Linked DNA regions of Homo sapiens: region 1 is linked to region 2. The links are contacts of gene promoters, found by promoter capture Hi-C in human tissues and cell types (Jung and others, 2019). All regions are on one chromosome and are shown on one strand. The core of a region is centred on a gene start or on the middle of the fragment in contact, and the rest is flanking DNA. Distances in the headings are between cores, read along the strand shown. Region 1 has its middle 17 kb from the start of KRT76. Region 2 holds the start of KRT84 (keratin 84).

Region 1 (4,082 bases), core at 245-2,744, 380 kb before region 2:
CTTTGAGTGATCATTTTGTTTTTCTAAATAATCTGTACATACTCTTTGTAGATTAACAAAACTAGCCATTTGTTTGTAAAAGATATTATAAACAGTGTCTTATAAATGCAGATAAATATTTCATCTAACTGTTGCCATGGTATCATGACTGGATGAAAGAAAGACACATTTTATTGGCTACCTACTGTATGATCAGCCTAGTGGTAGGTCTGAGATCAAAGGACCTATCAACATTTTGAGCAGAAAAAGATAATGATTTCTTTTAATCCCAATTTTAGCAGAGGCTGTCCAGGGCACATTGCATTGTTTAGACTATGTCTGGATGGTCTATTTAGATCTGGATCCCCCTAAAGAGACAAAGGCAAAGCAGAACCTACTGGGGAAGGATGATATGAATGGAGAGGATTTTATACTAATATCATATGCTGAGTGTTGACAGGACTGGAGAAAATTCCCTAAAGGGGGCCCACTGACTGTCCTCTACAACCTGAGCTTTCAGTCTCCACCCTGTCTTGCTTTTCTTTGCCAGGGGCCCTGGTGTTGTCTAGTCCACCTTCTTCAGGGGAGCCTGATCCTTGTACCACCATAGCTCCTGGCAAGTCACCTAGAAGCCAGTCCTACATATATCCTAGTCCCATTCTGTGGTTCCACATTGGGAAGAAGCTGCTGCTCCTGTCTTCTTGCTTGCCTGAGGCAAGGACTCCAACAGCACCTTAGTCACTCAAGAATCCAGCAACCATTCACAATTGTGCCAGAATCAGTGCCCTGTTGGGGATGCTGAGAATAGTTGGGGTGGGGTGACAAAGAGAGAACCTAGTGTTGTGGGAAGTCAGGGACCCCAAATGGAGGGACTGACTGAAGCCATGGCAGAAGAACATAAATCGTGACTATTTCATGGACATTTATTAGTTCCCCAAATTAATACTTTTATAATTTCTTACGCCTGTCTTTACTGCAATCTCTGAGCATAAAGTTGTGAAGATTTCATGGACATTTATCACTTCCCTAATCAATACTCTTGTGATTTCCTATGCCTGTCTTTAATCTCTTAATACTGTCATCTTCGTAAACTGAGGATGTATGTTGTCTCAGGACCCTGTGATAATTGTGTTAACTGAACAAATTGTTCGTAAAGCATGTGTGTTTAAAGAATATGAAATCTGGGCCCCTTGCAAAAAGAACAGGATAACAGAGATGTTCAGGGAACAAGGGAGATAACCATTAAATCTGACTGCCCGAGAGCTGGGCGGAACAGAGCCATATTTCTCTTCTTACAAAAGCGAATAGGAGAAATATCGCTGAATTCTTTTTCTTAGCAAGAAACAGCCCTGAGAAAGAGAATGCGTTCCTAGGGGGAGGTCTCTAAAATGGCTGCTCTGGGAATGTCTGTCTTATACAGTTGTAGATAAGGGATGAAATAAGCCCTGGTCTCCTGTAGCGCTCCCAGGCCTATTAGGACGAGGAAATTCCTGCCTAGTAAATTTTAGTCAGGCTAGTTTTTTGCTTTCAAACCTTGTCTCCTGATAAGATGTTATCAATGACAATATGTGCCCGAAACTTCATTAGCAATTTTAATTTTGCCCTGGTTCTGTGATCTTGCTCTGCCCCCATTTGCCTTGTGATATTTTATTGCCTTGTGAAGCATGTGATCTCTGTGACCCACACCCTATTCGTATACTCCCTCCCCTTTGAAAATCACTAATAAAAACTTGCTGGTTTTGTGGCCTGGGGGGCATCATGGAACCTGCCAACATGTGATGTCTCCCCCAGACACCCAGCTTTAAAATTTATCTCTTTTGTACTCTTTCCCTTTATTTCTCAGACCAGCCTACACTTAGGGAAAATAGAAAAGAACCTACATTGAATTATGTGGGGTGTTTCCCCTGATAACCTAGCTTAGCAGGAGGGACAGCAGAGGGGCTTACAGGATTGCAGGGAAGTGGGGCCAAGTTGTGGGAAGAGGCCACCTCCAAAATTATGTCTGTGGTAGTAGATGAGATGACAGAGTGAGGCAAGGCTGGGAGAGAAACAGAAGCAGGATCAGCCCCCTAGGTGGGGTCTGTAGTGGATGGGTGGTGGGCTCTCACCCTTTTGAGAACCTAGCACTCACTTCTCCAGCTGCTGTGGCTCCTGATTGCTCTTAGAAGAGTGCCTTTCCAGGAACACCTTGCCCTAGGCTATGATCTCTCCCCATTGGCAGGTCTAGTGCTTGGTGGGATTTGCTGAGACCTTTGTTGCAGCCAACCCAACTACATAGGAGTTTAACTTTTCCCCAATCCCCAATCCTGCTTCATTCACTTCCTTACATATTGATCCTCTCCAATAAACTTCCTGTACACAAATCTTCATCTGAGTCTGTTTTTGGGAATTTGAACTGAGACAGGGCCAGAGGGAGCTGGTCAGTTGGCTGGTTGACTGGGATTTGGATGGGGAGGTTACCTTTTTTTTTGGTAAAAGCTGGTGCCCTGGGAGCATGGAGAAGACCCTGGGATCCTTGAAGACCCTGGAGGTGAAGGCCCAGGGATGGCAGGCAGCCCACCACACATATAGAACTCATGAGAACATTCTGCAGGGATTCTGGAGGGGGTGGGCTTCTCTGGCATGCTGCCATTTGATCAATGGTAAATGCTTGCTTGGGACATTCAGGAAAGCCAAGCTAGGGCTGGAGTAGGGATTGCTGCTACTTAGGCCAGGCTTCCCAGGCCCCCTCCTGCCTTCTCTGTCTATTCCAGATGTTCTTTCTCCCACTGGCTGAATTTCTGAGGTCCAACTCTGGTGTCCCAGTTCACTGAAGTAATGGCTCTTGCTAACTCATCCCTGGCTGACAGAGACAAACTCCTAACTGTCCTCCTTGCCTCCAGGGGGCTCCGGTTGACCTCTTCCAATTCACCTTTGCTGGCAACAGGGGACAGCAATTAACAAAATGTATGTATTAGAGCTCCTTTCTCACTCCCACTGTTTAGACTAATTATTTGGTTGTTTCAAGCCAGGCGTTTTGCCTTATTAAAGCTGGGGTTACTCACAGTCAAGGCCAAATAGTCCACATTTGAATTCCCATAAATTCATTTCATGCATGTTTTGCCCTGCAAAACTGGTAATTAAGATGCAGGGTCTTAGCTGGCCAACAATAATGCTTTGTAATAGAAGTACAGAGAAAACCTAGGACTTGAGGCATTTTTAGTTTATTTTCAGCTTTGTAAAATCAAAGCTGAAATGGTTTAGTTAGAATTGGCATGGTTTTTAATATAGGGCTGAATCAGTCTGCTCAGTTTCCCTCTGCACACTTGGCCGATGCCCTGAGCCTTCTGACTGTAACCCTTGCCTTACCTCCCACACACATAGACACACACACCCTTGTACTCACTTGCCTTTTTAAAACAGGAAAGCACTGAACAAATGTGGCAACAGCACCCACATGCAAACTTTGGAGAACAAAGACCCCGCTGATGAGAGGGTGTGTTGTGTGGTTGATGGTCCAGAGAAGATTTTCTATCATTGTACATAAGGATGACACTACTAGTTAAAAGCTAATGTGCACTGAGTGCTTGTTATGTACCAGGACATGTTCTAAAATAATTTAATCCTCACAGCAAATTTTCATCTGATAGGTGGAATTCAAGGCATAGTGGGTTAAACAACTTACCTGAGGTAATGTAACTAGGAGGTGGGGAGCCAGGATTTGACTCATGGGGTTTCACCACAACATGACTTAACTGACCTGAAGACCAGTGAGGCACAAGTGAAGGTTTTCTAGCGCTAGATTCTTCTCATGCTGAAACTCATGATGTTAAACTGGTGTTCTGAAGTCTTCTGGACCTCTCAGGTCTTTTTGTGAATTAGAAATAGATGTCCATTCTGTGCAGACAGCTTCATGGTTGCATGTCTTAGCAAAGGATAGCACTTGTGTAAAGTAACATATGTTTGTGTTCTTCTGGGTGGACATAGTCCATGGCAGAGCACACAGCTCGGTGACTAGAGTATGGGCTAGATTTTCGCTCCCTTTCACATCCTTGGCCTGGAACTCTTATATATGACACAATACACACAACTGACATGGTGGTCTGGTGGTTTTGTGTTAGATT
Region 2 (4,228 bases), core at 1,231-3,730:
GGAGTTTCGGCATGGAAATGGCATGATCTGACATGTTTTTAAAGGATCACTCTGTGCTGCTAAGAAAAGCCTGAAGGGGCAAGGGAGGAAGCTGGGAGACCAGCTGGGAGTGTAGTTCAGAAGATCCTGTGGGAAGAGATGGGCCTGGGCCAGCATGGGAGCAGCAGGATGGTGAGAAGGAGTAGGAGTCTGGATATATTTTGAAGGGAGAATTTGCCAATGAATTGAATGTGGGAAAAGGGAAATAAAAAACAGAGGACAAAAGGATGACTCCAAGATTTCTGGCATGAACTATTGCAGAGATAGTGATGTTGGCAAGTGGAACATATTTAGCAGGAACAATTAGGAGAACAGTTTTGGTCATAAAGTCATCCCTCTGTATCTGTGGCTCCCACCTTTGTGGATTCAACCAACTGCAGATTGAAACTCTTAAAAAAATTGCATCTGTGCTGAACAAGTACGGACTTTTTTCTTGTCAATAAAGTATAACAACTATTTACATAGCATTTACATTGTATTAGGTATTATAATCCAGTGATGATTTCAAGTATACAGAAGGATGTGTGTGGGTTACATGCAAATACTACACCATTGTATATCGGAGGCTCGACGAACATCCATGGATTTTGGTATCCACAAGGGGTCCTGGAACCAACTACCTGGGGATACCAAGGGACAACTGTATTAAGTTTGAGATGCCTATCTGATATCCAAATAGAGATGTTGGTTAAAATATATGTGTGGCGTTTAGGGGTAGGGAGGTCTGGGATAGAGTTGTGCCTTGGCAGTCATGAATGAACAGATGGTATTTAAAGTCCTGAGTCTGTATAATATCACCAAGGCAATGAGTCTAAAGAAGAGAATAGATACCCAAGGATTGAGCCAGGGACTCTGCAGTGTCTAGAGGTTGGGGATATGAGGAGGAACTGGCTTAGAAGACTGAAAAGAGTGTGGCAAGAAATCGAGAGAGTGTAGTGTCCGAAAATCAAAAGAAGAGCGTGTTTCAAGAGAAAGGGCATGGTCAGCTATGTGAAGAAAGTGAGAACTGAGGACAGACCATTGAATTTAACATGGAGGCCACTGGTGGTCTTGACGAGAAGTATGCACTTCTTATTGTTTTTCTGCTTCATTTCCCCCTTAGACATACAGCTGATAGCTGGAAAAAGAAAATACCGCACAAATGAGCTGGATGCTTCTGGTCAAAAGCATACATCCCCTTCCAAGTGGAATTGCAAGCATCCCAAAGAATCTCAAGCGTCCAGTCAAACATGAGTTCCCCTGGGCAAAGGATGCACTAGAATAGAAAAGGTAAACACCAGCCTGGCTCAGGGTCCTAAAAGAGCTGCAATATTGCTAACAATGATAATATTCAGCTGCTGAGAACTTTTCCTTTTCTATCCAGATGTATATTGCTTTGTGTCTCTCTATCCTAACCAAAGATTCATCAATAATTCAAGGAACCTAAATGGACAGGCCCATAAATCACACCTATGGTATATTTGGGGGCTAAAAATCATGTAGTTAGCTTTCTATACAGAAACTTTCCAATGCTTTGGCCTCAAATCATGCCACAAAGTGTTGACTGCTGGAAATCCTCAAGATAAATGTTCTGCTGGGCATGGTGGTGGATGCCTGTAGTCCCAGCTATCTGGGAGGCGGAGGCGGGAGGATCACTTGAGCCCAGGAGTTCAAGACCAGCCTGGGCAACTAGATCATGTCTCTAAAAAAAAAAAAAAAATTTAAGATAAATCTTCCCCTACTACCATGAAGATAGAGACTGTCTTTGTAATCTCTGTACCCTCAGCAGCAAGCACACTGCTGGATACATAGCAGGCACTCTAAAACTGTAGAATGAATGAATATCTCTGAGTGTCTCAAATCACAGATGTGTCTACACTAGCCCAAATGAGCTTTACTGTAGATTCAACTCTTGTATACTAAACAGCCATATTGGATAAAACATGGCAGAAGGTTTTTTGATGATTTAATTGATTTGCAGAAATGCAACAAACTGTATTTTCTCCATATCACTTCTTACTTGGAGATGTGCACACACTCCCACCTCTTTAGGGGGTTATATCTTCATGGATGCATCCCATGTGAGCCTCTTGCTGGAGCTGTCGCCATCCTAACTTTCTGGTGGTTAGCCACACTCACAGTGAAAAAACCTATTGCATTTATGACCAAAGCAAATTAATGTCCCCTTAATGGCAATTGTGGTAGACTTATAGGGAAAAAAAAGACTATAATGTTTATATGTTTATGTGTTTTTAATGTTTATTGGTTTGCTGTTACAGCCCTCATCCCAATGAGACTAGGTGTGTCTGAGTTAACTCATTGTCAAGGAGGTTATAGGCATGCAGAGTTTCTGCTAACTACCCAAGCTCATAAATGCCTGCAAATGGATTTTTTCATTTTTATGGGGCCAAGCCTCAGATCACCACACACATAAAAGGGGTGCAAGGGTTCCACTGGCCTCAGAGGGACTCCCAGCTCCAGCTCACCCATTCTACACTTGCTCTTTTGCTCCCAACCAGGAAGCCATCATGTCTTGCCGCTCCTACCGAGTCAGCTCTGGTCACCGGGTGGGCAACTTCAGCTCTTGTTCAGCAATGACACCACAGAACCTGAATCGCTTCCGGGCCAACTCTGTCTCCTGTTGGAGTGGGCCTGGATTCCGGGGCCTTGGCAGCTTTGGTAGTCGGAGTGTCATCACCTTTGGATCGTACTCACCCCGGATAGCAGCTGTAGGCTCTCGGCCCATCCACTGTGGAGTCCGCTTTGGTGCTGGCTGTGGGATGGGTTTTGGTGATGGGAGAGGTGTTGGTCTGGGGCCTAGGGCTGACAGCTGTGTTGGTCTGGGCTTTGGAGCTGGCAGTGGCATTGGCTATGGCTTTGGTGGCCCTGGCTTTGGTTACAGAGTTGGAGGGGTTGGAGTCCCAGCAGCCCCATCTATCACAGCTGTGACTGTGAACAAGAGCCTACTGACCCCCCTCAACCTGGAGATTGACCCCAATGCCCAGAGGGTGAAGAAGGATGAGAAGGAGCAAATCAAGACCCTCAACAACAAGTTTGCCTCCTTCATTGACAAGGTACCTATGATAGCTGAATCTCTGGGTCTAGGAATATTACAGCCAAAATGCGCTAGAGTGCTCTTTCCCTTAAAAAGAACTGGCCCGGTTCTGGGGACTTGACCTTGACCTCAGATCTTTCAAGTGCCTACCTCAGGCATTGTGGTATGCTTTATGGGTTGCTCTGCTGCAGAGCAAGGCCAAGCCAGAGGACGAGCTGCATGGTGGGATAGATTCCGACAGTGTTGATATCTTCTGGAGGACAGAGGAGCATCCAGCCAAACTCGAGGGCATCTCGACAAACTAAGATGTTGCATCTGGTCACTTAGAAATGTCTCTGAAACAGGCTGGAAACACTGGGACTTTAGCCAGGTGTTGGCTGGTATATGCTTAAGAGGTTTTATTCTTTGAGATCCTTTTGTTCCTTATGAAGTTTTCATAGTTTCTGAGGCTGAGTGGCCTCATCTATTCAGGCTTAGAAAAGTAGAGAATGGAGTTGAGTAATTAAAAAAAGAAGAAGAATTCATACCCCCACATGGGGTATCAAAATTCGGCCAAGTTGCCTAGATTCAGGGAAATTGCAGGGAATGACCACTGGTAGTCACTGGCTTCCAGGCAGATGAGTGGGAACAGTGATGTGGATAACCCAAAAGAACTGACATCCCACACACCATGTCTATGTGGAGATGGAATGGTTATGTCTGAGAATGAAGGATAACCTCTGTAAGTTTTGGGTTCTTCCTCTCTAAAATGAGGGGCTGGGGTAAAGGGTCTGTAAGTTCTCTTCCAGCTCTACACATAGCCAATGGAATATCTGCGATGTTGGATAGGACTTACAATCTGAGAATTCCTACCTCCCAGTACCATATCCCACCCCAAATGTAGTTTACTCTGCTCCCCATTCTCTGCCAGGGATGCCTGGCATCAGTTTTCAGATATAGGCAAACCAGAGCTTAAATAGAATCAACCCTTCCAACTTCCTGATGTACCAGTGTACAGCTTTCTTAGAGACTGGATAGGGGAATGGTACTGAAGTGCTATGGTTCAAAACCCCATATTGGTAACTAGGCCTAGCCGAGCACAAGGAGGGAGTCACAACCTGCCCTTCCAGCTTCTGCTGAGTTAGTGGAGGAATGAAAGTCAGCAGAGGAGAGAAC

The links. Contacts are between HindIII fragments. The study calls those that stand out against the background at their distance.
Region 1: a fragment that was not itself captured here is called in contact with the fragment with the promoter of KRT84 in region 2 in 2 of the 25 tissues and cell types used here (heart left ventricle and neural progenitor cells).

What each region holds. Positions count from the first base shown.
Region 1 is chr12:52,758,704-52,762,785 of GRCh38, reverse strand. No RefSeq gene overlaps it. Among named protein-coding and RNA genes, the nearest start is that of KRT76, 17 kb to the left of the region's middle. The HindIII fragment of the contact is 9,267 bases long and covers 1-4,082 here.
Region 2 is chr12:52,383,904-52,388,131 of GRCh38, reverse strand. KRT84 (keratin 84) reads left to right here and starts at 2,480. Exons shown (of 9, transcript NM_033045.4): 1 at 2,480-3,092. The coding sequence starts at 2,547. The HindIII fragment of the contact is 12,479 bases long and covers 1-4,228 here.